Linked DNA regions of Homo sapiens: regions 1, 2 and 4 are each linked to region 3. Evidence: promoter capture Hi-C in 16 types of primary human blood cells and fetal thymus (Javierre and others, 2016). All regions are on one chromosome and are shown on one strand. Each heading gives the region's core, a stretch centred on a gene start or on the middle of the fragment in contact. The rest is flanking DNA. Distances are from core to core; before and after follow the strand shown.

The links. Contacts are between HindIII fragments. The CHiCAGO score rates a contact against its expected background, and 5 or more counts as called.
Region 1: a fragment that was not itself captured here is called in contact with the fragment with the promoter of SF3B1 in region 3 in 7 of 17 cell types (naive B cells, total CD4 T cells, total CD8 T cells and 4 more); the score reaches 6.0 in naive B cells.
Region 2: a contact is called between a fragment that was not itself captured here and the fragment with the promoter of SF3B1 in region 3, in 1 of 17 cell types (monocytes). The highest score is 5.7, in monocytes.
Region 4: a contact is called between a fragment that was not itself captured here and the fragment with the promoter of SF3B1 in region 3, in 1 of 17 cell types (total B cells). The highest score is 5.4, in total B cells.

What each region holds. Positions count from the first base shown.
Region 1 is chr2:196,802,166-196,805,248 of GRCh38, forward strand. C2orf66 (chromosome 2 open reading frame 66) reads right to left here. Exons shown (of 3, transcript NM_213608.3): 3 at 2,252-3,083. Among named protein-coding and RNA genes, the nearest start is that of GTF3C3, 4.0 kb to the left of the region's middle. The HindIII fragment of the contact is 3,051 bases long and covers 1-2,939 here.
Region 2 is chr2:196,762,632-196,765,940 of GRCh38, forward strand. It overlaps GTF3C3 (general transcription factor IIIC subunit 3), which reads right to left. Exons shown (of 18, transcript NM_012086.5): 18 at 404-2,054. The coding sequence ends at 1,932. Among named protein-coding and RNA genes, the nearest start is that of GTF3C3, 35 kb to the right of the region's middle. The HindIII fragment of the contact is 6,544 bases long and covers 1-3,309 here.
Region 3 is chr2:197,432,970-197,436,406 of GRCh38, forward strand. SF3B1 (splicing factor 3b subunit 1) reads right to left here and starts at 2,059. Exons shown (of 25, transcript NM_012433.4): 1 at 2,003-2,059. The coding sequence starts at 2,030. RefSeq lists enhancers at 1,396-1,942, 1,687-2,886, 2,128-2,437, 2,458-2,507. The HindIII fragment of the contact is 13,845 bases long and covers 1,350-3,437 here.
Region 4 is chr2:196,779,853-196,783,246 of GRCh38, forward strand. It overlaps GTF3C3 (general transcription factor IIIC subunit 3), which reads right to left. Exons shown (of 18, transcript NM_012086.5): 9 at 707-810. Among named protein-coding and RNA genes, the nearest start is that of GTF3C3, 18 kb to the right of the region's middle. The HindIII fragment of the contact is 1,482 bases long and covers 849-2,330 here.

The DNA of each region.
Region 1 (3,083 bases), core at 164-2,663, 630 kb before region 3:
AAACAGTGTAATAAATGTTTCCCTCTGGGCAGAGTTTGGGCGTGTTTGCTAGCAGTCCCATTAGAAGAGTGGGGATTTCCTAAGTTTGGAGTTCCTCAGCTTTGGCACAAACCCAGTTGTGCACTGCATACCCCTGGACCCACATTCACATGGCTCCCTTGATACTTGGGGAGTCAGGAAAACTGATGTGAATGTAAAACTTATGTCACTACCTGCCATGCCATCAGTAAGAAAGTCAGTTGTCTCAGACATAAGGTGTCTCATGTATCTGCCAAGTTTGATGAAAGGGTAGAAAGCTAGTGTGTAGCTTGCAAGTAGGATAAAAGCTCACACTCTTAACAGTTCTTGGCCACCCTAGATCTGGGACAGAGGACAATAGGCCAAGTGCCGGGGAATGGGGTGCTCACTGAAGAGGAGCAGAAGCTCCTCTCAGTGTTGAGAGATTGCCAAGGACCTATATAGAGAAGTACCAGAGACTTCTCCAGAACATAAAACACCTGCAGAACATTTATTTGCATTGGCGCAAACACTACATACACTTCATCTATGTTCTGGCATTAGTTCTCAGCCAAGAGCAAAATCATTTCACTAGTGAATTTTAGAAATGTGTGTAGGGAGGTTTTGGGGGTTTTGTTTGTTTGAGACGGAGTCTCGCTCTGTCGCCAAGCTGGAGTGCAAGTGGCGTGATCTAGGCTCACTGCAGCCTCCGCCTCCGGGGTTCAGGTGATTCTCCTGCCTCAGCCTCCTGAGTAGCTGGGACTACAGGCACGAGCCACCACGCCCGGCTCATTTTTGTATTTTTACAGGAGACAGGGTTTCACCATGTTGGCCAGGCTGGTCTCGAACTCCTGACCTCAGGCCCACCTCAGCCTCCCAAAGTGCTGGGATTACAGGCGTGAGCCACCACGCCAGGCCCCCGGGAGGTTTTGATTGTCGAAATGATAGGGCAGGCCTGGCACGTGGCTCACGCCTGTAATCCCAGCACTTTGGGAGGCCAAGGTGGGCGGATCACGAGGTCAAGGGATCAAGGGTGACAGAGGGAGACTCCATCTCAAAAAAAAAAATTTCCAGCTGAAGGATGAATGCCCCTGCCCCAAAACTTTGCAAGCTCATAGCTAAATGTCCTATGTGGATGCCCTTCCTTTTCAAAGCCACTGCACTGCACTCCAGCCTGGTGCCACTGCACTCCAGCCTGGCGACAGAGCAAGACTCCATCTCAAAAAAAAATAAAAAATAAAAATAAAAAAATAGGGCAGAGATGGGGAATCTACTAACATAGAGTATCTGGGGACCAGGTGTACTAAATGATCACGCACAGTGATAATTTGGCTTCCCCCAACTGCCAATAGCACTACCATTAAGAAACTCTAGTCAGTGTGAGGTATGGGCTTCCATCCATAAAAATGTTCCAGCTGGGCTGGGCACAGTGGCTCATGCCTGTAATCCCAGCACTTTAGGAGGCCGAGGTGGGCGGATCACGAGGTCAGGAGTTCGAGACCAGCCTGGCCAACACGGTGAAACCCTGTCTCTACTAAAAATACAAAAATTAGCCAGGCGTGGTGGCGGGCGCCTGTAATCCCAGCTACTAGGGAGGCTGAGGCACGAGAATTGCTTGAACCCAGGAGGCAGAGGTTGCAGTGAACCGAGATTGTGCCACTACACTCCAGCCTGGGCGACAGAGTGAGACTCCGTGTCAAAACAAAAAATAATAATAATCCAGTTGAAGGATGAATGCCCGTGCCCCAAAACTTTGCAAGCTCATAGCTAAATGCCCCATGTGGACGCCCTTCCTTTTCAATGCCCTGAAACTGATGAGCATTCCCTTTGTGGAGGTCTTAACACCGAGAGCAGGGATAGTAGTAAGAAAGTGAAAACCAGCCACTAGTACTTGGAACTCGACAGAGGTGAAAAACTCCCTACCACTCTACCATTTATATGAATAAGCTATGCTTTTCTGAAGAATAGCTCATCAAGAATTACTTACACTTTTTAAATGGCAAGAAAAAAAGTTTTGACATTAACTAAAAGCAGATTCCATTACTGTGTGAAAACTGGATGAATAGCACGTGTTTATTTCAATTCAACAAGTATCTATTGAACACTTGCTCCATGCTAGGCATTGTACTAGGTGCTGGGGAAATAAAGGTGAATTAGATATGGTCTCTGCTCACAAAGACCTCACGACTCTTCAGGGGAAACAGACACATATACGACTAATTACAATAGAACATCTTAAACCAGACACAAAATCTGTTCTTGCACAAATATTTTATTCTTCATATACAATATCAATAATCCACCCAAAAAAGCCACATTAAAATATTTTGAAATGCACAGACTAATGTTAGGACAATGTTGCATTTTAGTGCAACATTCCTTTTGCAGGAATCACAGAGAAGATGATGCAGCTATCTATAAAGATACAGGAAAAGCAGCTATTCCAAATGTGAGTATGGGAATCAGAATAACTCAGCATGAGCTAGAGTAAGGAGAGCAGGGGCTGGTTGGAAAGAGAGGAAATCACCTGTTTCTACTTTTCCTTCCTGAGGAGGTTGTGTATGAGAGCAAGGGCTCGGGCATTGCTAGAATATTTGATGTGGCACAATGTCCACCTCTGAATACTCTGGCAAAGAGCATCTTTGGAGGCGTTGACAACTTCTAGAATCCCATGTTTGTTGTTGTTGTTTGCTTCCATTTTAACTTAATTGTGGCTGTTTATCACTTGCCCTCATTTCTTATGAAACTAAAACTGTGAAGTATTTTGGTAGTGTATGCTGAACATGGGAATGCATCTTCTTTTTAGGAAAGGAAGACAAATTTTAAACCCAACCCTCTATCACATATAATGAATTTTACTATACTAAAAGTGAGCATGTCCCTTTAAAAAAATATATTGGTCGATAAAAGATAATAAACATAAAAGACAAGTTTTAAAAACAAGCTTAAAGAAACATCTAATTTAGATTATAATCTTTTTTCAGTTTGTGATGTTTTTGTAACTCCTACAAATACATGCGGTGCTCTACATCAATATTTATGGTTTCATAGGAAAAAAACTCCATAAATATGCATAGAAATCATAG
Region 2 (3,309 bases), core at 86-2,585, 670 kb before region 3:
AAATAAACTTATGCTTGGCTGGGTGCAGTGGCTCACACCTGTAATCCCAGCACTTTGGGAGGCCGAGGCGGGCGAATTACGAGGTCAAGAGATCGAGACCATCTTGGCCAACATGGTGAAACCCTGTCTCTACTAAAAATACAAAAATTAGCTGGAGGTGGTGGCAGGCACCTGTAGTCCCAGCTACTCGGGAGGCTGAGGCAGGAGAATCGCTTGAACCTGGGAGGTGGAGGTAGCAGTGAGCAGAGATCATGCCACTGGACTCCAGCCTGGAGACAGAGTGAGACTCCGTCTCAAAAGAAAAAAAAAAAACAAACCTTATGCTTAATGTTTGTTGTTACTCTGAACTACAGCAACTGTGTTCTTCTGAAGGAAAATCTCTGAGCAAGGAGCAGCTTACTAGTGATCTTGAACATGCTATTTAATCTCTAGATACAAAGTGGTGATGACAATATCAATAATAACTACCTTGCAGTTCCCTGAGAGAATCAGAGATAACATATCCAAAGTGTTTAGCACCATACTTAGCATACAGTAGCAGAGTAAAAACTCAGCAAATGGAAGCTATGATTTTAAAAGCTAAACAAAACTATACAATATCAGCTGGTTTTTTTTTCCCTTAGGGAGACTTATTTCCTCCACGGCTATTTAGTAGACACTGGAGCCACAGTCCAGTGAGCTAATTTAAGAGAGAAACTCGGAGCACAGAATGCTCAGTTCCACAGAATTCCAACACACAAGTCTAACTTATTACTGTATCTCAGTTACCTCTACCATTACCTATAAATGGCATAAAGTAAAAATTAAGCATGTGAAACAGTTAACCTCAATTATAAAAATAAAATGCATTTAAATTATACACATGGAGTATACAATATATTTACTTATTGCATACAAATTCTGCTCAACTAGAAAGTTTTGTGTACAGTAGAAACAGTGGTAAGAATTTCTAATAAGTCCCAATTTTATTTCTTTGATCCTAAGCCTCTACTTGTTTCCCTCCCACAATTGGGCTGGGTGTTACTAACCCATGTGCACATTAATTACAGCATTTATTTTTCCCTAAAAAGTTGTTATTAAGCTAACAGTATATCATCTAAAAAGTACTGTTAACTTAAATTCAAGAACATATAATAAATAGTGGAGATGAGTAAACAAACAAAAAAAAAGTTTTTTACTTTATCAATCAGCAGTATGTCCTTTATTCCATACGTACTACTTGCCCAGTCTTATATTACTTGTGATCTTGAAATGGAAACCATGTCCTGTTATTGAACAAGCTCTTCTCTATTTTTTCATCAGAAAGCCACAAATATAGATAAAGCATTTTTTTATTTGCCTTGGAGCAATATATTTTGAATTAAGCCCAGCCTCCCATGTTTCAGTTTAGGTAGCTAAGATACATGCTGGTGAAAAGTAAAAAACTAAATTATTTGTCTTTCTGCCTACCACATAACTATTTTAAATAATTTTCTTAGGTGCTTAGTTATCATGGTCATGACATCATAAAGAGTCCCACTTTGTCTTTCCTTTAATAATAAGCAACCTCTGTTTATACGTATTTGAAAAACTGCCTCATGTGATATTGACAGAGCTATAGTATTAAATACAAAGATGAATAAATGGTGTGAGTGAAAAATAGTGTATTCGACTCCAAGCTAGCTCAAAGGCTTACACGTCCATTTCAACATTGGGAACAATTCACTATAGAATGTGAAAGGAAAATGACAGACCAATATACAAATTTTTGTAGGAATAATTTTGCATATATACCACAAGATCATTATCACATATTAAAAATAAATACACTGTTTGTTAGGTAATTCTGAAATTGTCATTTCTATTTTGGAGTTACAAATAATAAGCCCTGAGACAGAAGACACTGGTCCTCACACAGCAGCTGCCATTGCTCTGTTCTCAGTTGCGGTGCTTTATATAGAACAATAGGTATACAAAAGCGTTTGAGCCATTCCGGTATTCCCACTGCTCTGATAGATGAGAGACAAGTTGTAGGCAATATCTCTTCGTAAGTCTAACTGGTCAAGTTCTATACCCTAGGGAGAAAAAGATACCTTTATGTTTAATATTTCCAACTGTCAACCGGGACAATTTTATGGCAAATTAATAGTTTTATAAGTGTAAGTAAGTTTTCAAAAGGTATTAAAGCTCATGTACTAAAAAAAAATTATAAAACTATGCATATACCTTGGATCAATGCTGATTCAGTTAACAGCATCATCAAATATTTTAACAGTAATTTAAAGTCTCACCCACAAGCTACGGCAGAATAAACGCCAGATGAATTTTGGATTTTAGAGTTAAAAAAGAAACCATAAAAGAAAAAATACAATGGGATAATATAATCTTGGATAGGAAAGGTCCTTTTTATGATAGCAAAAGTAGCAACTATAAAGGGAAAGATTGGTATGACTTCATAAAAAACTTCTCTGTGTAAAAATAACATAGTATTAAATGAACACCAATGAGCCAATGGGAAAACAATTCCTATGCTATCACGGAAAGGCATATAAAGTGTAGGTTTAGGAGGGATACAACAAATTGACTCCAATATTACCTCAGGGGTATTATAGTTTTTCCCACATACATAACAATGCAATGAATTCAATGGACTAGATTAGACCTATGTTTCTAATCTTCCCCAATACAAAAACTTTGGGTCAACTGAAAAAAAAATCTGCAACAATTAAAAATGATACCTATAAAGCTCAATTAACAAGATGTAACAATATTTATGAAATAACACTGTATAAACAACCTTTAATAAACAATCTCTTAGGTGTATTTGAAAACTGCCTCCAGTAATATTGACAGGACTATAGTATTAAATGCAAAGATTAATAAATGGTGTGAGTAAACAATAGTGTTTTTATACATATAAAAATATATATAAATATGTATATATGAATATGCGTATACACCTATTTTTATATATACATATGCATATATAAATAATATGTATGAAATACATATATAAATATGTATAAAATATTCAAATAGTAAATTTATATATAAAAACAGCATCACTATAAAATATATATTCATTTGTTTAAACTGAACAGTAATAGAAAAACAATTGTGCCGGGCGCAGTGGCTCACGCCTGTAATCCCAGCACTTTGGGAGGCTGAGGCGGGCGGATCACAAGGTCAGGAGATCGAGACCATCCTGGTTAACATGGTGAAACCCCGTCTCTACTAAAAATACAAAAAATTAGCTGGGCGTGGTGGCAGGCACCTGTAGTCCCAGCTACTCAGGAGGCTGAGGCAGGAGAATGGCGTGAACCCGGGAGG
Region 3 (3,437 bases), core at 809-3,308:
AAATCTTAACACAACAGACTATTCTAAGCAATATAACATTTATACTGAGTACTATAGCAGCACTGCCCCAAAAAGCATTAATTCTGCTTCAGTTTATCAAAAATGGCTTAACAAGAGAAAACAGTGATGGACCATGAAGAACTAGAGTTCCATTAGGAAGGAAGCAACAAGCTATGTCAGTATTATGTGTATTTCTACTAAACATTTATCATCCCCTGACATATCCCATAGGGATGGGCACAGACAGTGCTCAAGTATTGAATGTTCTGCTATTTTCTTATGGTATCACTTAATTCACATTGATAGAATAATCTCAAAAATAACAAGTTTGGCCAATGAATAGCAATAGACCAAAGTTTTTAGCTGGGTTTCTAAAAAATTCAGGAAAACTGATCAGAATTCTGATTTTCCTGTCTGAGGGCATCTTATACTGAAGTTACCAATAAATAAGTATCAAAGCTATACTATCAATATCCCCAAATGAATAACATCCTGAATGAACAAAAACAGCACAACTTTATATTTTCTACTTACTTTGCAAAAGGTTATATTTGAGATAGTCTAAAGACAAAATAATAAAGCCTAGGAATACTAAGAGAGCATTTAAATCCTAAATACCTAAAATGGTATACTAATATTAAAGTCATTGACAATTCATTAGCATGTTTGATAAATAGCAGAAAGCTGGACTTCAGGTCCTCTGGGTGACCCAACTATTCAAAGCCATTCACATTCTGGTCCTAATCCAACCTTTCCAGATTCATTTATTTCTTCTCTACTTGCACCCTCTGTTCCTGCTACAGTGGACTACTACTCAAACACACCTTTCACGATTCAATACCTTGTTACAAGATGTTCTCAGGCTCAGATGTCCTTCCCGATTTAAAACTGACTGATCCTTTTAAAACACGGTCATGTAACCTCCTCAGTGAAACAACCCTAAACATAATCATTCCGTTACCCAGGTTCCCAGAACATGCTGCTTTTTCTTCTACTTAAGCATGCATCTGGCCTCATGAGAGAATGAGAACATACACATCTGTTTCTCCTATCAGACTGTAAAATTTTGGATGGCCTCAGTCTCTTACCTCTCACAGACTAATACCGAGCCAAATACCCAGAAAGAACATATGAAACAAAAGTGACTTAGAAGTCTCGTTCTCAGTGAAAATCTCGGATTCCAAGTCAGAAATCAAAGAATGCAGTTCCAACTTCTCATGCCTCGTCTTTTCTGAAAAGTGATCCCATTTTCTGTCATCTCTGGATACTTCCTAATGAACTCCAGTCTATTCCCAACGTTTTCCTAATTTGCACACTCTGTATTCCATAAAACGATCAACTAGCTTGAAAGCTTCGGCCATTAATGAAAGTAATTTATGTTTTCCTCTTCCATCTGCTCCTCCAATAACCAGTCTCCAAAGAAAAAGATCAATATTATACTAAAAGTGACTAAGGGAGGGAAAACAACTACCAGATTTTATCCCCAAATCGTTTCGTGCAAGAAAAATAAACAAGTAACTGACGCTTGAAGACACACAAGGGTAGGAGTAACGGAATCTCGGTTTAACCAAATTCGATTCAGTCTGCCGGAAAAGCGGCTGCCGTATTTCAGTGCTTTTCTGACCCTCTTCTGCACAAACTATGGGGACGACAGTGTCGAGAGGCGAGTGAGACCTTCTCCCCACGCCCGCTTCCCCGATCCCTTGCCCACGAATCCTACTGAGGAAGCCGCTTAAACGAGGCCCTCTGGTCAGAGAAGAGAAGCTACTCTGAAGTAGCAGGTCCCAAACACTGAACAAAGCGCCTGTCGGGGGTGTAAGAGGAGGACGCCATTACGCGGGGCAGTGGCCTGCGCCGCTGGCGCGGAGGAGACGACCCTTGGCCCCGAAACGCGGGCTCAGCTCCTACGAAAGAAACCATAGAAAAAGGCAGAATCCTAGGAAAAAAGGCTTTTATTAGGCTAGCAACGAAGAAAACACGTAAGCAGGGAAAGACCGCTTACCTTCGTGAGTCTTGGCGATCTTCGCCATTTTGTCCACTCGAACACACAGACGGAACTGGCGCTCCCAAGAACTTCCGCTCGTCGCCGCCGCCACGGAGAAAAATAGCTGGGGGCTGCACTCTGCGCGTGCGCCAAACGGGAGCGCGCTCCGTCGGGTGACACGTGACAGAACTGCCACCTAGAGGGAACCGCGAGGTGCATTGTGGGTGGGGGAGGAGACACGGTTGGGCCCTGAAGTCGCCTGCGTGGTGACCCAGGAAATCCCCGAGCCGAGCCGTAAGGTCCTTAAGTGAGTAACTTTGCCCTGGAGGAAAGTGGATTCTACGAAGGGAGTTAAGAACAGACACTGAGTCCCAGCAACTCTGGAGGCTGAGGCGGGAGCATCGCTTGAGCCCAGGAGTTCGAGGCAGCCGTGAGCCGTAATCGTGTCGCGCCACTGTACTCAAGCCTCCAGACCGGGCGACAGAGCAAGACCCCGAGACCCCTCCCATTAAAAAAAAATGAACACTGTACGAAACGCTGCGGTTTCAGAGCTGGAAGAGACCTCAGACATTCAATCCCTTTTCCCAAAATTCACTGGAAGAGCTCGAGGAAAACTTTCCCTTGCAGCTGTCTCAGTCTTTACAGTGCTTAGTTACGAAGACAGTCTTAACAGTCCCATCTTTCGCCCTGTAATTCAAGGTCATTTTTCATTCTTTCTGTTTAATAATTGCAAATAATTTGGGTAGGAATTTCGTTGAGCCTCACAAATCGTTGCTGAGTTGCACAGTGACAATCTTGCCACCCTTTTAAAGCCTTTTACTTTATGGGTTCCTAGAAAACCACTCATCGTCATTATTAACATTCATTAGATGTTTCTCTTAAATCCTAGACGGTATTCCTAAATCAGGAATTTTAATAGATCAGAATACGGCAGTCTGTTTTCCTGGGCATCAATTATAATATAACCTTGTACTGTCACACTGGTCTTTGACTTCGACGATGAAAAAGAAAGAAAGGCTCAGAAAGATGGGTCCCGGAAGCAGCCGAGGAAAACAGGTAGTTATCAAGGTTAGAGCCATCACAAAGAGAGGAGTACCTCGCTATGTGATAAACCTGCAACCCAAATACTAACCATACCATGGGTCAGTATGGTCGTTTGAAGGGAGGGAAATGGTATGGGTGTATTCCTCTTGCAGGAAGACCCCATATCTACTTTGGGTAAAGTGAGGAGCCATTTTCCTGAGGCTAGCGGTAGGTGGGAGATATATGGACAATGGCACTGGACTGAGAGCTTAGATAACCTGTCCCTGGTGACTCCTGACCTGCAGCCTTGCTCCCTCTTTCCCTCTCACCAGACTCCCTCCCTTCTTCAGATCAGGTGACACAAACGATTTTTTTTCTGTTTTTTTGACACACAGTCTTGGTTTGTTGCCCAAGCTGGAGGGCAGTGGTG
Region 4 (3,394 bases), core at 340-2,839, 650 kb before region 3:
GTATTTTTTGTAGGCGTAGGGTTTCACCATGTTGCCCAGGCTGGTCTTGAACTCCTGAGCTCAAGAGATCTGCCCGCCTCAGCCTCCCAAAGTGCTGGGATTATAAGTGTGCACCATGGTGCCCAGCCAAATGTCACCTGATCCCCTATTGAAAACTGCAACTTTCCCCTGCCCCCAATATTCCTTATTTTCCTCCTTTTTTTTCCAGAACACTTATCACCAGCCAATGTCCCGTATATGTTATGTATTTATTTTATTATCTAATCCCATTAAAACAAAAAAGCATCCCAACCCATGAGGGTATGGATTTGTATATTTTACTCAATATCTTATCCTAAGGTTTACAAAGTAGATGCTAAGTACTTTTTTTTTTTCAATAATATACTTGGTCCAAAGTCCGCAAAAAAGAATAGCTGTCAGAATTATTACCAATTATCTAATGACAATCTCAAATGGTCTAAAGACAATCTCAAATTATGATCTTTAGATTGTTATTTTAAAAGAAAAATAAATTACTGTAAGCCCAATTGCAAAACAATTTTAGTTTTTATAAGATATTCATACAAAATTATTTGATGCTTATTGTTACCTCCTTGGTTATTAAGAAATGTGAAACTCTAGGGTCAAGTTATAATTTCTTGACATCTAAAGAAAAGAGATGGTGCATTTGATCTGAAGTATCTCAAGTGCAGATCTTGTTACATACATTAAGTGGTTCAAGAATGTTGAGATGTACAAGGCAGACCATCAACTTCACTGTGATATCTATTGGCACGCCATCAGGTATAGTGCAGGTAACATTCTCAGGAGCTGGAGAATACACAGACAAGAAGCAGTTACTATATGCAAGCTTGAGATGTGTATCTTCTATGTAAGATCTCATTTATTTCATTCAAAGCAAATGATTCCACAGTCAATTCTTAGTGTGGCCAACTCTATTAATAAGTTCTTATATCTCTCTCAGTCTGTCCTTTGGTAGCAAGTATGCTTCCTATTCGATTTCTAATACCTTATGTACTTATCCAAAACTTACTTTCACACCTTCTACTAAACTACGGAGAACTAAAAAGACAAAAATAATGAGGATATATGAACCCTCTCTCTTTTTTTTCTTGAATTGAAAAGTCTCTTTTTAGTGTTCACTAGAAACAGGCTAAGAAAAGGATAAAATAATACTGTGTTATTTTCTAAAACCTCATTACAACAAAATAATTTTTAAAGCCCTGGGAAATTACAGGAATTTTTATCCACATTTAAAGTAGTTTGCAAAGTCTAATAAATTCCAAATAAGTTTACATGTTTTCGTTTCAGAAAAACCTGAAGTATAGAGGACATCACAGATGTATCCTAAGTGGTGAAATAAAAAATTATTCAAGAATTAAATAACTATCTGTTTTACAGAACTTGTCATATAAATTATGACAGTCTTCCATACCTTCAGGTTCCACATATGCAGATTCAATGAACTGCAGATCAAAAATGTTAAGGGGAAAAAAAAAAAAAAAATATATATATATATATATATATATATATATAAAATTAAATAATACAAACTTAAGAAGCAATACAGTTTAACAGCTATTTACATAGCATTTACATTGTATTATTAGGTTGGTGCAGAAGTAATTGTGGTTTTACCATTAATATTATAAGTAATCTAGAGATGATTTAAAGTATACAGGAGAAGGTACATAAGTTATATGCAAATAATACACTATTTTATATAAGGGATTTGAGTATCCAAGGATTTTGGTATGAGGGGTGTCCTGGAGCCAATCTCTCATGAACACTGAGGGGAGACTATATTGCCTAAAATTACCAAGTTATAGGAGGATTCGGACAAGTTTAATTAAGAGACTGTTTTTATCACTGAGCTCTAAGCCAATAACTGGTATCAGAAATCCAATTAATATATTTAGTCTGCTCAACGAGAGAGCAGAATTTACCTACCATGTAAATTTACTCACACTAAGCCCTGAGCTCCATGAGGACAAGAACCATGTCTGACTCAAGGCTGTATCCACAGCACATTTCTTCTGTAGACAGTAGCTAAAGTCACCTGTCTGAGTAAGGACTAAACACAATGCAGTCATTTTAATGAGCCTTTTTCTTTACTAAAATCTGATTCTATCTTTATCATGTATGGGTTCTACATTCCAACTGTATCACTTTGATTTTCATTCTAGAAATGCTGTTTGCTAACAGTCTGAAATGTTGGTGTCCCACCAAAATACCTGTGTTGATACCTAATGCCCAAGGTTATTAAGAGGTGGGTCTTGGGAGGTGCCTATGTGGGTGGGATTTGTGCCCTTGTAAAAGAGGTCTGAAGAAGCTTGTTTGTCCCTTTTGCCACGTGAGGACACAGCAAGAAGGCACCATCTATGAGAAAAGGGCCCTCACCAGACACCAAATCTGCTGGTGCCCTGGACTTCCTAATCTCCAGAACTGTGAGCAATAAATTTCTGTTGTTTATACATTACCCAGTCTAAGGTCTTTTGTTAGAGAGTCCAAACGGACTAAGACACTGTTCAATAAAATATATCTACGTGTTTTAACTTTCAGCAAGAAAATTATAGTATATGAAATACTTTATATCTCGGCATAGGCCTTAAAAATATAGTGTGTATAGATGCATAGGTCAAAAACCCTGCTTTCATATCAAATCACAAAGTAAAACTCAACCTTATGTTGAATGCAAGATGTATACCTAAAATCAAGTGATTCAGGAAAGCTGAAAATAAAAGGACAAAGGTATAGCAGGCAGGTGCAAACAAAAAAAAAAAATAGGTGTCACAATCTCAATATGAGACAATGTAGAATTCAGACCAACTATATTTAAAAAGGTAAGGAGGTCACTTCATAATGCTACAGGGCAGTGCTACTCAAACTAGTCTGGGACCTGTGCAGGTAAACAAACTGTTACCAGTTCAATCAGGTAAGTATGGAGATTGAGAGTAAGTATTTAGATACTTTAATGGCAACTTGACAATGCTAAGGAAAGCAGTATATATATTTATAGCCCCTACAGCTTATATATTATTAACTAACATTTAACATACACTATCTTTTAAAAAGCTTGTCTTTGTGTCACTGATACTTTATTCTCCTGAACTCCCATTAGGTCTTTCACATTCAGAAGAATTTAAAAATGTGACTGTCAATAGACAATACATAATCTACCATAAATGGTCTCATTTTTTAAAATGCATACTAAAAAACTACCTTTGCTCACTTTGTATCTGTTTTAATCTCCTAGTCTTCTGGACATATCTTTTTCTTTAAAGTTATTTCATCAACACTAAGCTGCCAGATTTCAGATGCACCGTTATTTTACATGCTAAAAAATAAAGAAGCCACTACTTAAACTCTAACCTGTTGTTGATTTATGTTAATA